2 separate regions of the Homo sapiens genome follow, and region 2 is linked to region 1. Evidence: promoter capture Hi-C in human tissues and cell types (Jung and others, 2019). All regions are on one chromosome and are shown on one strand. The core of a region is centred on a gene start or on the middle of the fragment in contact, and the rest is flanking DNA. Distances in the headings are between cores, read along the strand shown. Region 1 holds the start of COL8A1 (collagen type VIII alpha 1 chain). Region 2 has its middle 250 kb from the start of LINC00973.

Region 1 (7,847 bases), core at 1,659-4,158:
TATAGCTTTTAGAATTATGACTAGCAAATTACTGTGGGTTTTTAAATATGGGGCAAACCTGAAATCATTTTCATCATTAGAACCAAGCTGTTCTTTTCTGCTAAAGAAGGAGGGCTAAGAAGAAGGGCATAGTAGAGATGGATCTTATACTCTCATTGATTAAAAAACAACAAACAAATAAAAAGACAAGAGCAGACATGGATTTTTGCTCTTCCCCATCCCCTCATGTTCACATAAATGAGGGTTGGGAGAAGTTGCGTTTCGTAACAGAGCTCCTAATCTTGCTTTTCTCCTAGGGCACTTCTGTGATTCCTCCAGCTTCTCTTTCAAGTCCCTTTTCACCCCAATCCTCTTCTCCTTGATTTTTATTTCATAAATAGGAATAAAGTGGCATATGTTTTCTGATCATGAAAAGGATATCATTTTATAATTTTGACAGTAGTAGAACATCTAAAATGCACATTTCTGTAGGATCAGCAAGCCCTCAAAATCAGTAGAGCTCCCTTCTTGTGTCTCTAGTGAAAGCGGCAGCTTCTCATCTTATCTTTTCTGAGAAACATTAAGAAGTCCTCCCAAGTCTGCCTCAATGGCATTGGTTGGGTATAGTCATGGACTTGATCAAGAGGCAGCTATATAATGGCAAAAAGAGGAGACTCACGTGAAGTATCCACATCCCATGCAGAAGGGGAGATTTGGGGGCGACTACATGAAACTTCGACACTGATTTTTCTAAAAGCTTAAGAAGAGCAGTGTCATCTTGCTTGGTATGTACCCTATGGAGAAAGGATAGCTTTGCTCCTGGGAAACTTAGATCATGAGCAATCTAAGATGATCTCACTCAGTTATTTAGGGGCTTGAACTTGATGGGACATAGGGAAGGCAGTTACTGTTTAACGGTCCATAGCTGGTCCGGTGGATTAATTGCCAGAGAAAGCAGAAGTAAACCCTTGGAGAATACTTTTATCCCCAAACTTAGGAATAACTGGAAGCTCATTTAAACTGGGAGCATTTCCCCCTCCACCCCAAGAAAAGATAACTTCCCTCAAGGGGATCTGGTGAATGAAGCAGCGTATTTTCATCCTTGTGATAATGGGTGTGAGTCAGGCACTACCATAAAAGAAGAATTAACTTGAATGTGCCACATACTTGGTCTGGCCTTGTCCCATACCTGTACTCTTGTCATGGTTGATTACCTATGTGCATCAGATATAAAGCAAGCAGTCTGCATTGTGGCATGAGATAAAAGGTATGTTAATATGCTCAGGTCACATACTATCTTGGCCAATAGTAATTTTATATAATTTGCTTAAAGGAAACTGCACTTCTTGCAATATTTTTTTCCAATGAAGAAAAATTTAACGTGACAGAAGCTTTATATATAACTCTTGCATTTGAGTAACAGCATTGAATCCTCTCCATCTCAAGCAGAACTTTTAAATATTTTTATTACTTTTGATATGCAAAAGCTAAGGAGAAATGGTTTGGAAGACCTAAGTTAAATTTCTAATGAGTCTTGTTTCTTTAATAGGGGAGAATTTCATACAGCTTCGGTGAGTTTTTTCTTTCCACATGAGATAATATAAACAAACAAAAAAATAAAAAAGTGAAACATTTCTCTTCTTACTTTAAGAACCTTAAGGGCTAAAAGAGTGGTTTGGTTTCCTGACTGGTACTTTTGGTTTGCCTTCTCTAAGTGGTCTTGAGCAATTCCCCAGAGGAAACATTTGAAGAGGGTTTTTCTCCCACTTGAGAGAGTTTCATCCCACACAACCCACAGAATTTGATGGCAAACTTCATGGACCAAGTGTCTGGTTTTACAGAAGTGGCTGTGGAGTATGTTTTTCCTTTCACAGGTGCACATTTATTCTACCTTAGGAATAAGAAGAGATCATTTTCTTTTAAAGAGGGTAGCTTAAACACTGAATATCTCTGATAATTGGATGCCAGTCAGGTAGGTTGTGATTTACTAAATGCGGGGGAAAAAAGGTGGAAAGAAGGATTAAAACTTCCAAAGCCTTTCTCGCTGATCTTTCTTTACAACCATCTGGTGTGCACAGAAGTATTGTATAATCTGGCCTGTATTATTCTCTTACTGTGAAACATATTGAAACACTTTATGTTTAGGTGTGTGTACAGAAATTCATGAAGTTCTTTTATACACTTTCTTAGTTCCATCGTAATTCTCATTTTAGGATGTCGTGAAAAGATAGCCTGGTGAGAGAGCACATTCTACCCTGGCTTGTGAATTTGGATTTGTTCCTTCCTATCTACCAGCCACCTGATTACTTACTGTCCCCGTGCAAAGGGCACCCGTTCACATCATTTTTTTCCAAGCGCTAAAACCTGGAAAGATATTTTTTTAAAGGACTCACAGAAGCTGTCTTGGGGGTTTGGAAAACATCACAAAATTGTTAGCAGACCTTTTGACTGTGCTATTTTTAGGAAGTTAACTGTGTTCTTTTAAAGTACATTTTTGACAATGGGACAACGTTTTCCTTGCCCCCACTGATGTGTGAAATATGTACAGTGAAAAACGTCAGTACAACACCCCAAACAGATACATTTTAACCTAAGCAACAGTCAGCAACAGGAGAAAAAGTGATTTAAAAAGAGAAAGGTTTCGCAATATTTATGCTGCTGTTTCTTCCCTGAAGGAGCTTTTATTTTACCATTCAAACAGAAGTTTGTTTTCAAACCAGTTGCTAGTTAAAGGAGCAGCGGATCGCGCATCCGTAAGAATCAGCTCTAACCAAACAGCAAACGCGTTGGCCAGAGGGTGACTTATTCCCCCATAGCAACCCCTGGTAGGTGAGCTGCCTGCAGAAGTGCTGTCTTACCTTGAGCACGTAAGATCAGGGAGAGAGGCTCGCTGGCTCCCACGGAGAGGATCGGGGAAGGGCTGTGATCCGCTGCTGGTAACATGCACTTGGCTTTTATGGGCAGGTGGGAGGAGCTGCTCCTCATAGTAGGTGGGCAGGGAAGGAGCGGCGGGCGGGCAGCCTCTGGAGGAGCTGGACACTCTTCTCTGGGGAGGGGCGGGCAGAGACTGGAGCCCGCAAGGCGGAGGAGAGACGACGGGGCGGGGGGAGGGGGAGCGCGGTCACAACGGAGGAAGGAGTGGAAAAGGGAGAGAGAGGGAGAAGGGAAAAAAGAGAGGGAACTAGAAATAGTGAAAGGGATCTTGACCACAGATGGGGAAAGGTGGGGGAGAAAATGAATAGCAGAGACAGAGAGAGAGAGAGTGTCTGGGAGGAAAGGGGAATCGGAGTATTTTCCGTTTTTGCATGACATTTTTTGGCAGAGGGAGTTGTGGGTGATTGTGACTTTTGAAGGTGTTTTCTGTGAATTTGGGAATTTGAAAAGCTACATAGCGGTCCGGGAGAACTGAAGGGTTTCTAAGCGAGGCAAGGGAGGTGAAGCTGGGCGTCCGGGCAGCAGAGCCAAAGTTCAGGGTGGACCCGGACCTGGAGCTGGAGGCACTGACATGGCCTGGAGCCAGGCAGCCCCCAGCCCTCAGCCCCGTCCCACCGCCCGCGGGTGAAAATCGCCCCATCCCTCTCCCTCCAGGCAAGGCTTATTTGACAAGGAAGTTCCTGCGCTGCCTGTCCTCTGAGCATCCAGAGGCCCCTTTTGAGACTTCGGCAGCATTAAAGTAAATCCAGCAACGGGGAGGATTCGCGTGGACTTGCTTGTGGAGACAGGAACCTCAGAACCAGCCTGGGTCTTCCAGCATCTGCTTATGTAACGTAGGATTTCAGAGCTCTCTGCCCTCTGGTTATTTTCGGTATTTAAAACACTCTCATTCCTAACAATCGGAAAACGTCTTGGTGCCACAGTTCTTTCTCAGTGTGTCTTAAACATTAAGAGAGGATTCAACCAACAAGTGGCTAAAGGATCAGTCTGAAATTACTAAGAAATGCATTCAGAGAAAGAAAAACAAGCTCCTTTCGCTGCTGAGTGGTGACTCACTTCCTAGCCCAAGCCTGATTTTTGCCACCAAAGGAATTAAAGCATTTTAAAAGAGAACCTGAGACTTGGGGTGGGAGATACAGTACCGGGAGGGGGAAAAGGCGGGAATGGGAGGGGGGAGGGATGGGTAGGCTGGAAATAATAAAGGAACGAACTTGTACTGAATATGTATATATGTACTTCATTCAGTGTTCACCGCAACCTTATGAGGTAGGTATGATTCATATTGTGCAGATTTATTTATTTTTTTTTTAATTTAAAGAAAGGCATCTCTAAGGGTTTAAATAACTAGCTCAAGCTAGCGAGAGGGGGAGCCACAGCTAGCGAGCTTGCAAACCTTAGGCACTCTTCAGTACACCAGGCTGCCGTATAGAACACCTAGGTTCGTCTCAGGTTAGATCCTGATGTCATTGGCTGGTAGCAGGCTCCAAGAGAAGGAAACTTGATGGTGAAGAGCAGAATTACTCAAACTTAGCACTACTGAAACTTTCGGGAGAATATTTCTCTGTTGTAGGGACCTCTCCTGTGCACTGTAGAATGTTAAGCAGTGTCCGTGGCCTCTACCCACCAGATGCCAGTAGCAGTACCCACTCCGCACTCGCCACCCAGCTGTGAAAATAAAAAATGTCTCTAGATTTAGCCAAATGTCGCTGAGGGACAAAATCCCCTCCTCTTCTTAAGAACTATTCGTCTAAAAAAGGCCCACAACTATAAAAAAGCATTTTAAAAGAATCTATTAAGAAAATACCCAGTAGTGCCATTTGGATAATAATAATACCTACGTCCATATGTGCCGAGTTTACACAGCACTTAGGTTTTTACATACGTATTTCCATCTGTTAGCTTCAAGAGCTCAAAGCCTCAATTACTTCCTTTGTAACTAAGCTTATTCTCAATTGGTTACGTCTGGGAGTCAACGAAATAAACTCCCATGTGCCCGGGATATGAGGCAAGAACAATCATATATGAAATAAAAAATTTAAAATTTTTATCGTAAACACAAATTTGACACCAGAGTTTTCAAATTTACTCACGATGTTTTGCATTATTGATTATTCGCCTTTTTATAATTTTTTATCTCTATGTTCCCTATTCAAATTATATTCAATAATTTTTTGGCTGCACAAAGTTATAACTAGTGGCTTACTAGCTAGTAAAAAATAAGTGCTCAATAAATATGTATAGTCTCGCTAATTGAATAAACAGCAATATTGAGGACTGACAATAGAGAATGGTCAGCATTTGTTAGTTTAATGAATGCTTAGAAAGCTAAAACTTTCACATCAACTTTCTGCCCGTTTGCTGTTTGGTTTTACTCTCTTCTTACCCTCCATAACTCAGTTTTCCTCTTCCCAAATAGTATGTCTTTTGAGGATGTGGCCAAATCTACTGAGTGAAGTCTGTCAAACGAGTAACACTTGTTACTAGACCTAGAAATAGGACTGCATTATCTATTCTTGGACATAACGCTGAAATCAGATGTGATTTTACAAGCACAATACCACTTTTGGAACTTTTTAATTTAGCAAAGAAATGTGTTCTGGGGAAACAAAATGGGACTTTTAGAGGAGAAGCTGGGTGATAAAGTATGTTAGTAAATACCCTTATCAGATTACAACAAATCATCTTTTCTATCCTAAGTTAATTCTTCTCAAACATTCCAGTTCCATCACATACGTATGAAAAAAAAAAAATACCAGAAAGGCAAGAAAAGCACATTTGAAGAAAAGACAATTGATGGCTGTAGGCTGAATTTCTCTTCTTATTTTTAATTCTTTCTTCCTTTCAAACCAGCCAACATAACAAAAGCACTGCTTTCATTTTTTTGGATGGCACTAATAATTAGTTCATTTCTCCCATTCACACTTACCTGAATCTGATTCAGTAGCAGATCTGGACAACAAGTCAGGAATCCAGGAATGTCGTCTCTTTGCTGACTCTTAGTGTGCCCTTCCTAGAATCTCTCTGAAGGTGACTGAGGTTTGAAATGACCTAGTTTGGTCTTCTGTGGAAGGAAAGGAATCCAATGACAACATACTAGATGCTCTGAAGTTTCCATTGTGTGGCTATAACAGCTACAGATCATTACCTTACTTTTGAGAGCTTTGCAAATGTAACCCTTTTTTGGAGTTTATTTAGAATTAATCAGTTAACAAATATTTATTAAGAATGGATATCAGACAATGTGAGGTATTCAAAGCAGAGGAAAATATGACATCTTTTCTCACAGAGGAAGAAAAGCATGAAATCCTGATAGTTGAATTTTAGTAAAGAGACTTCAGGGAGGAGGTGGCATTTGAGCTGAGCCATGGAAAGTAGCATTTGAATAGACGAGTGATGGACAGTAGTACATTCCAGGCAAGGGAGGATATGTGTGCAACCAGGGAAATCACAGGAATATTCAGAAGGTGGTGAATTGGCCAGCATGACTGTATAGAAAGGTCCATGTGGTAGAACAATGAGGCTGAGAAATGGAGAGGAGGGATGAGGAGGGATGAGGTCACCTCAGTAGTCTGAAGTATAAACTATATTCTGTAGGCAATGCAGAATCAATGAAGACTTTTGAGCAATAGAATGGCATGGTGAAAGTGGCATATTTTCAAGATTTCATTTTTCTTTGAATATAGGGTCTTTATTGTGGCTTTGCAGATAAATGCTTGCCTGTGCATCTCAGACTGATAGCATACTTAGAAATAGAGAAAACAGAGTGTCTGCATCCTGCAGACTTGGAGGCCTGAGCAAGGTGGCAGAAACAGTAGTGGTTCTAGCCCAGTTTTCCCTGGAGTGTCCTGTATGGTTGTAGGAAGGGGGTAGGAAGGCAGGACCCTCTCACGGTGTGGCCAGGGTGACATATGGGATTCACATAAAGAGTGATGTCTTCTCTGTGTGTCCGAGGAGCCCAGTGTCTTTCTCACCTGCTGTAGCTTTACATTATCCCTAAATAATATACCTGATCCATGAGATCCTTGAGTTTTCAAGGATTTCTGGATTGGAAAACAGTGTGATCTGGCTTTAAAAACTGCACATTCACATCTATGTTCTCAAATAGTTAATTTTTAACTATTTGTTTGTGCTGCCCATGCCAGATTTCAAGCTCTGATTCTTCCTTTCACTCCTTAGAGCTTTAAAATGCAAATGAATGTGGCTTTGGCCTAAGCAAAAGTCACAGACAGGTGTGCTCACTTGAAGTAAATCTGACAATTTGAAATACGGTGTACAGAAATTTGCTCTCCATCTATCAAATGACTCATCAGTCAATCAGTCTTAGCCCATGCTAAGCATGACCAAATATGATCGTAGTCCGTAAGGCACTTAAAATTGCCAGCTCTCCTAGGACATTTAAAATGGGGTTTTATTTACAAAAATGGAAAACGCTTTATAGCACAGAAGAAAGGCACACCTCTTACGCATTCCAAAGGACCGTTGGATTTTGTGAGTCACTGTTTTCCTGTTGGCCCATAGGGTAGAGCTGACTGATGCAGGTGACCCCACAGATGACTGCCTCACAGCTCCTGCTGGCTTTGTAAAGAGCAGTGCATGGAGAGTCAGGAAATCTGGAGTTTAGTCCCCGCTCTGCCACTAACTACCCAGGTGAAAACTTGGGGCAGGTGTTTTATCCTTTTTGGACTCAGTGTTTGCATTTGTAAAAGTGTCTGCATTTGTAAAATAAGAAGGCTTAACCAGACCCTCTCTAAAGTTCTTTCCACCTTCCAGATGCCTGCTGTGTGCCAGTTGGTGGGCACTCCACTCACTCAACATCCCCATGAAGTCAGCTCAACATACAATGATACACATGCTCAATTTAGGTATGTGTATTAGGGTTCTCCAGAGGAACAGAACCAGTAGGAGATACACACACACACACACACACACACACA
Region 2 (7,847 bases), core at 3,017-5,516, 470 kb after region 1:
GTGGGATTGCTGCATCATATGGTAGTTCTATTTTTAGTTTTTTGAGAAACTTCCAAACTGTTCTTCATACACTTACATTCCCAGAAAACAGTGTACGAGGGCTCTCTTTTCTCCACATCCTGACCAGCATGTTATTGCCTGACATGTGGATAAAAGCCATTTTAACAGGGTGAGATGATATCTTATTGTAGTTTTGATTTGCATTTCTCTGATGATAAATGATGTTGGGCAACTTTTCATATACCTGTTTGCCATTTTTATGTCTCCTTTTGAGAGATGTCTATTTGGATTGTTTGCCCGTTTTTGATTGAATTTTTAGATTTTTTTCTACTTTTTAATATTCATATATTTTCTAGTTATTAATTCCTTGTCAGATAGATAGTGACAAAGATTTCATGATTAGAATACCAAAAGCATTTGCAACAAAAGCAAAAATTAACAAATGGGATCTAATTAAACTAAAGACCTTCTGCACAACAAAAGAAACTGTCATTAGACTGAACAGACAACCTACAAAATGGGAGAAAATTTTTCCAGTCTATCCATCTGACAAAAGTCTACTGTTCAGTATTTACAAGGAACTTAAACAAATTTACAAGAAACACACAGCCGCATCAAAAATTGGGCAAAGGACATGAACAGCCACTTCTCAAAAAAGACATTCATGCAGCCAACAAACATGAAAAAAGTTCAACATCATTGATCATTAGAGAAATGCAAATCAAAATCACAATGAGATACCATCTCACACCAGTGAGAATAGCAGTTATTAAAAAGTCAAGAAACAACAGATGCTGGTGAGGTTGTGGAGAAAAAGGAACACTTCTACACTGTTGATGAGAATGTAAATTGGTACAAGCATTGTGGAAGACAGTGTGACAATTCCTCAAAGATCTAGAAGCAGAAATACCACTTGACCCGGCAATTCCATTACTGGGTATAAACCCAAAGGAATAGAAATCATTCTATTATAAAGATACATACACACATATGTTCATTAAAGCACTGTTTGCAATAGCAAAGGCATGGAATCAACCCAAATGTCCATCAGCAGTAGACTGGATAAAGAAAATGTGGTACATATACACTATGGAATACTATGCAGCCATAAAAAGGAATGAGATCATGTCCTTTGCAGGGACATGGATATAGCTGGAAGCTGTTATCTTCAGCAAACTAATGTAGGAACAGAAAACCAAACACCACCTGTTCTCACTCATCAGTGGGAGTTGAATGATGAGAACACATGAACACATTGTGGGGAAAAACACACACTGGGGCCTGTTGGGCATGCTGGGGAGGGAGAGCATCAGGAAGAACAGCTAATGGGTGCTGGGCTTAATAACTGGATGATGGGTTGATCTGTGCAGCAAACCACCATGGTACACGTCTACCTATGTAACAAACCTGCACATTCTGCACATGTACCCCAGAACTTAAAATAAAAGTTAGTAAAATAATTAGAAAAAAAAGCTTTCTCCCATTCTGTGGGTTGTCTCTTCATTTTTTAAAATTGTTTCTTTTGCTGTGAAGAAGCTATTTAACTTCATGTGATCCCATTTTTGCTTTGGTATCCTGTGCTTTTGAGGTATTACTAAAGAAATATTTGCCCAGACCAATGACCTAAAAAGTTTCATTAGTTTTCTTTTAGTAGTTTCATGGCTTCAGGTCTTAGATTTAAGTCTCCAATCCATTTTAGTTTGACATTTTTATATGGTGAGAGATTGGGGTCTAGTTTCCATCTTCTGCATATGGATATCCGGTTTTCACAGCACCTTTTTGAAGAGATTGTCCTTTCTCCAATGTCTGTTCTTGGCACCTATGTCAAAAATGAGTTCACTATAGAAGTATGGTTTACTTCTACATTCTCTATTCTGTTCCATTTGTCTAAGTGTCTGTTTAAATGCCATTTCATGCTGTTTGGGTTACTATATCTCTGTAGTATAATTTGAAGTCACATAATGTGTCTCATCTTGTTTTGTCCTGTTTGTTCAGGTTGGTTTTAGTTATCCTGTTTTGTTTTGTTTTGTTTTGTTTACAGTTCCACATAAATTTTAGGATAATTTGTTTCTATTTCTCTGAAGAATGTATTGATATTTTGATAGGAATTGCTTGAATCTGTAGAGTGTTTTAGGTAGTATGGACATTTTAATACTATTAATTTTTCCAATCCATGAATATAAAATATCTTTTAATTTTTGTGTTCTCTTCAATTTCTTAAATAAATGTTTTATAATTTTCATTGTGGAGATTTTTCACTACTTTGGCTATGTTTATTCCTAGGTATTCCATTTGTCACTATTGTAAATGGGATTACATTTTTTTATTTCTTTTTAAGATTGTTTGCTGTTGGCATATAGATATGCCACTGATTTTGTATGTTAATTTTGTACCCTGCAATATTAATGAGCTTGTTTATCAGTTCTAATAGCTTTTAGGTGGAGTCTTAAGATTTTTCCAAATATAAAATTATACAATCTGTAAAGAAGGATATTTTAACTTCTTTCTTTCCAATTTTGATGTCATTTATTTCTTTCTCTTGTCCGATTGGTATAGGTAGGACTTCCAGTCCTATGTTGAAAAATAGTGGTGAAAGTGACCATTTCCATATTGTTGCAGATATTAGAGGATAGGCTTTCAGTTTTTCTCTGTTCAATATGATACAATCTGTGGGTCTGTCACATATGGCTTTCATTATGTTGAGGTATGTTCCTTCTATACCCAGTTTTTTTAGGGTTGTTTTTAGAAGGGGTGTTGAATTTTACCAAATGTTTTTTCAGCATCAGTTGAAATGATCATATGGTTTTTGTCCTTTATTCTCTTGATATGATGTATCACACTGATTGATTTGCATATGTGGACTCATTCTTGCATCACTGGAATAAATTCCACTTGGTCATAATGAATAATCTTTTTAATGTGTTGGTGAATTCAGTTTGCTAGTATTTTTGAGGATTTTTGCATCAATGTTTATCAGAGATGTTGGCCTGTAGTTTTGTTTTCTTTATGTGTTTTTGGTTTTGGCATCAGAGCAATACTGGCCTCATAGAATGAGTTTAGAATTGTTCCCTTTTTCTGTATTTTTTAGAATAGTTTAAGTAGGATCAGTGTTATTTTTCCTTTAAATGTTTGACAAAATTCAGCAGTGAATTCTTTGATTCTTGAGCTTTTCTTTAATGGAAAACTTTTTATTATGGTTTTATCTCATTATTTGTTGTTGATCTGTTCAAGTTTTGGATTTTCTCATGGTTCAATCTTGGTAGATTTTATGTCTCTAGGAATTTATCAGTTTCTTCTAAGTTTTTCCAATTTATAGACCTGTAGTTGCTCATAGTAGTTGCTAATGATTCTTTATATTTCTGCAGTGTCAGTTGTAATGTCACCTCTTTCATCTCTGATTTTATTTACTTGTGTCTTCTCTCTTTTTTAGTTAGTTTGATTAAGAATGTAGCTTTCCAATGAGAACACATGGACACAGGGAGGGGAACATCACACACTGGGGCCTGCAGCGGGTGGGAGGCTAGGGGAGGGATAACATTCGGAGAAATACCTAATGTAGGTGATGGGTTGATGGGTGCAGCAAACCACCATGGCATGTGTATACCTATGTAACAAAACTGAGCATTCTGCACATGTAACCCAGAACTTAAAGTATAATAATAAAAAAAGAATTTGTTAGCTTGCTTTCTTTCTTTCTTCAAAAAACTCAACTTTGTTTCATTAAGCTTTCATATTGTTTTCTTGGTTCAATTTCATTTATTTCTGCTTGGATCTTTATTGTTTATTTTCCTTTACTAACTTTGGGTTTGGTTTCCTCTTCCTTTTCTAATTATTTAAGATGCATTGCTAGTTTTGCTATTTTTTTGTAAAGATGCTTATTGCTACACACTCTCCTGTTAGTACTGCTTTTGCTGTATTCCATAAATTTTGATATTGTGCTTCTGTTTATATTTGTTTCAAGAAATTTTTAATTTCCTTCTTAATTTCTTCATTGACACACTCGCATTCAGGAGCATATTGTTTAATTTCAATGTGTTTATATAGTTTCTAAAATTCCTCTTGGAATTGATTTCTAGCATTATTCCATTGTGGTCAGTGAAGAAACTTGATAAACGTACATTTTCTGAACTTTTTAAGATTTGTTTTGTGGCCTACCTAACATATGATCCATACTTGAGAATATTTCATGTATTGAAGAGAAGAATTTTTATTCTGCTGCCGTGGGATGAAACGTTCTGTGAATATCTGTTAGCTCCATTGGATCTCTAGTGCAGATTAAGTTGAGTGTTGCGTTGGTGATTTTCTGTCTGGATGATCTATCCAACGCTTAAAGTGAGGTATTGAAGTCTCTCCCCATTATTTTATATAGATCCATGTTTCTGTTAGCTCTAATACTTGCTTTATATATCTGGGTGACCCAGTGTTGGGTGTTTATATATTTACAATTATATCATCTTGCTGAATTGACCCCTTTATCATTATATGAGGACCTTCTTTGTCTCCTTTTACAGTTTTTGTCTTGAAATCTATTTTGTCTGAAATAAGTATAGCTACTCCTGCTATTGTTTGGTTTCCATTCACATGGAATGTCTTTTTCCATGTCTTCATTTTCAGTCTATGTGTGTTTTTATAGGTGAAGTGTGTTTCTTGTAGGCAGCAGAAAATCCCTTCAGTTACCCTATGTCTTTTAATTGGAGAGTGTAGTCCATTTACAATCAATGTTATTATTGATAAGTAAGGACTAGTACTGCCATTTAAATATATTTTTTCTTGTTGTTTTGTGGTCTTTCCTCCTTCATTTTTTCCTATCTTTTGTGAAGATTATTTTACGCAATGGTATGTTTTATGTTCTTGGTTTTTATTTTTATTTTTTGTGGATCTATTGTAGCTTTTTTGATTTGAGGTTACCATGAGACTTGCAAATATTATCTTGTAACTCATTATTTTAAACTGATGAAAACTTAACAGATTCCAAAAATTAAAGAAAACAAACAAGCAAAGAGAAAACTAATAAAACTCTGCCCTTTAATTTTATCCCCCAACGTTTTAAAATTTTTGTTGTTTGCATTTATGTCTTATTATACTATGTCTTAAAAAGTTGTTGTAGTTATTATTCATCTTTTAGTCTTCCTACTCAAGATATGAGCACACAGAAATTACAGTGTCATAGCATTCTGTATTTTTCTGTATATTTACTATTACCAGTGAGTTTTGTACATCCAAATAATTTCTTATAGCTCATTAACACATTTTTCTTTCAGATTGAAGAACTCTCTTTAGCATTTTTTTGTTGGACGGGTCTAGTGTTGGCAAAATTTCTCACCTTTCGTTAGTCTAGAAAAGTCTTTATTGACCTTCATGTTTGGAGTATATATTTGCCGGATATAATATGCTATGATAAAAGTTTTCTTTTTCTTTGTAACTTCAAATATGCCATGCCACTCTATACTGGCCTGTAAGTTTTCCACTGAGAAGTCTGCTGTCAATGTATTGGAACTGTTTCACATGCTTTTTTTTTTCTCTTGCTGCTTTTTGGAATTTATTATTGACTTTGGGAGTTTGATTATTAAATATCTTGAGGTAGTCTTACTTGGGTTAAATCTTTGGAGTTCTATAAATCTTCTTGTATTTGAATATTGATTATTTCTCTAGGTTTGGAAAGTTCTCTGATATTATATCTTTAGATAATCTCTCTCTCTCTCTCTCTGTCCGCTTTCAGGCAATAATTCTTAGGTTTGCCTTTTTGAGGATATTTCCTAGATCTTGTAGATGTGCTTTATTCATTATTATTATTTTTCTTTTGTCATTTTTGACTGTGTATTTTCAAATAGTCTGTCTTCAAGCTCACTAATTCTTTCTTCTGCTTGATTAATTCTGCTGTTGAGAGACTGTAATACATTTTTCAGTGTGTTATTTGAATTCTTTAGCTCCAGAATTCCTGCTTGATTCTTTAAAATTATTTCAATCTTTTCATCAAATTTGTCTGATAGGATTCTGAATTCCTTCTCTGTGTTATCTTCAATTTCATTGAGCTTCCTCAAAATAGCTGTTTTGACTTATCTGTCTGAAAGTCTATTTTGAATTCTGTTTGAAAAGTCACATATCTCTGTTCCTCCAGGATGGATCGCTGGTGCTTTATTCAGTTCATTTGGTGAAATCATGTTTTTATAAATGGTCTTGGTCTTGTGGATGTTTGTTGATTTCTGGGCATTGAAGTGTTAGGTATTAATTCTAATACTCTCAGTCTGGGCTTGTTTGTATCTGTCCTTCTTAAGAAGGGCTTTTTATGTATTCCAAGGGAATTGAATGTTGTGGTCTAAATCTTTGGTCGCTGAAGCTCTATCTGCATTGGGAGATAATAAAGCCCAGTGTTGCTGTGACTTTTGTAGTTTTATAGATGTGCCACTTTGGTGAACTTGGGTAAGATCTGTGAGAACTCCCTGGATTACCAGCCACAGTCTCTTGTTCTCTTCCCTTACTTTCCCTCAAACAAATGCAGTTTCTCCCTGAGGGCTGAGCTGCCTGGAGCTGGGGCGGGGTGATGCAAGCACTCCTATGGCCACCACTGCTTGGAGTGTGCTGGGTCACACCTGAAGCCAGCATGACACTGGGACTCGCCCAAGGCCCATGGAAATTACTGCCTGACTACCATTGATGTTTATTCAAGCCCAGCAGCTCTTTAGTCAGCAGGTGGTGAATATTGTCAGGACTGGGTCCTTCCCTTCAGGGTAGCAGGTTTCCTCCTGGCCCAGGGTAGGTCCAGAAATTTCATCCGAGAGCTACAGCCCAGAATAAGGGCTTCAGGACTCTGCTTGGTGCTGTATTCTACTGTGGCTGAGCTGATACCCAAGTTGCAAGACAAAGTCCTCTTTACTCATTCCTCTCCTTTCCTTGAGTGGAAGGACTCTCTGCCAGAGCTGCAAGATGCACTGCCTGAAGTTGGAGTAGTGGTTACATGAGCACCCCCTTGGCCTCCTTATCTGATGCCTCACTAAGCCACTGCACCCTAAATTCACTGGCCCCAAGCCCAGCACAACCCCAGGACTTGCCCAAGAATTGCCACTCTTGTCGTCTCGACTGCCTTTCAGATTTATTTAGGACCCCAGAGTACTGTAGCTTATGGTAGTGGGCTAGCTAGAGCTCAGTCTCCCACTGCTAGGATGGATGAGACCCCACTGGCTAGGGTTGGTCTAAAGGCTCTCTTTGTTGGCACTAGCTGAATTCTGCCCTGTGTTTCTTTCCACTGTTACAGGGCAGCACTGAGGTCCAATGGGAAGTCTCACAATCACTTTGCTCTCCATCCTCTAAGCACATAGATTCTCTGTGTCATGTAGTACTGCTGGAAAATGGGGAAACAAGTGGTGTAGGGAATTCAAGACTATCTTCCTACCCTCTACCCTCTTCAGTGTCTCCTTCCTTCATATGATACTAAAACCAGGTACTGTGATTGCTCACCTAAGTTGTGGTTCTTATGAAGGTGTTCCTGCATGGTTAGTTGCTCAATTTATTGTTCCTGTGGGAGGCACAATCTCTGGAGGGTCCTGTTTAACCACCTTGATCTGCCTGCTTTCTTCTCTCAGTATTTTAATTAGGTTGCTTGTCTTTTTATTATTGATTTATCAGAGTTCTTTATTCTAGAGTCAAGCCTTATTGAATATATGTGATAAAAATATTTTTTCTCACTCTTTGGCTTCATTTTTAAATGGTGTTTTTGAAGAAGAACAAATGCTTTTTATTTTTATGTCATTTCTACATTTGTTTTCTGATTTTGTTGCTGCTTTTTGAATTTGTTAAGAAATCTTTGTCTACCTTCTGTCAGTTTTCTGTGGCTACTATAACAAATTACT

What was found. Contacts are between HindIII fragments. The study calls those that stand out against the background at their distance.
Region 2: a fragment that was not itself captured here is called in contact with the fragment with the promoter of COL8A1 in region 1 in 1 of the 25 tissues and cell types used here (aorta).

Annotation. Positions count from the first base shown.
Region 1 is chr3:99,633,655-99,641,501 of GRCh38, reverse strand. It overlaps COL8A1 (collagen type VIII alpha 1 chain), which reads right to left and starts at 2,908. Exons shown (of 4, transcript NM_020351.4): 1 at 2,838-2,908. LOC124909401 (a long non-coding RNA gene) reads left to right here and starts at 2,822. Exons shown (of 2, transcript XR_007095981.1): 1 at 2,822-2,915; 2 at 3,568-4,134. The HindIII fragment of the contact is 6,546 bases long and covers 1,054-7,599 here.
Region 2 is chr3:99,162,246-99,170,092 of GRCh38, reverse strand. No RefSeq gene overlaps it. Among named protein-coding and RNA genes, the nearest start is that of LINC00973, 250 kb to the right of the region's middle. The HindIII fragment of the contact is 3,333 bases long and covers 2,600-5,932 here.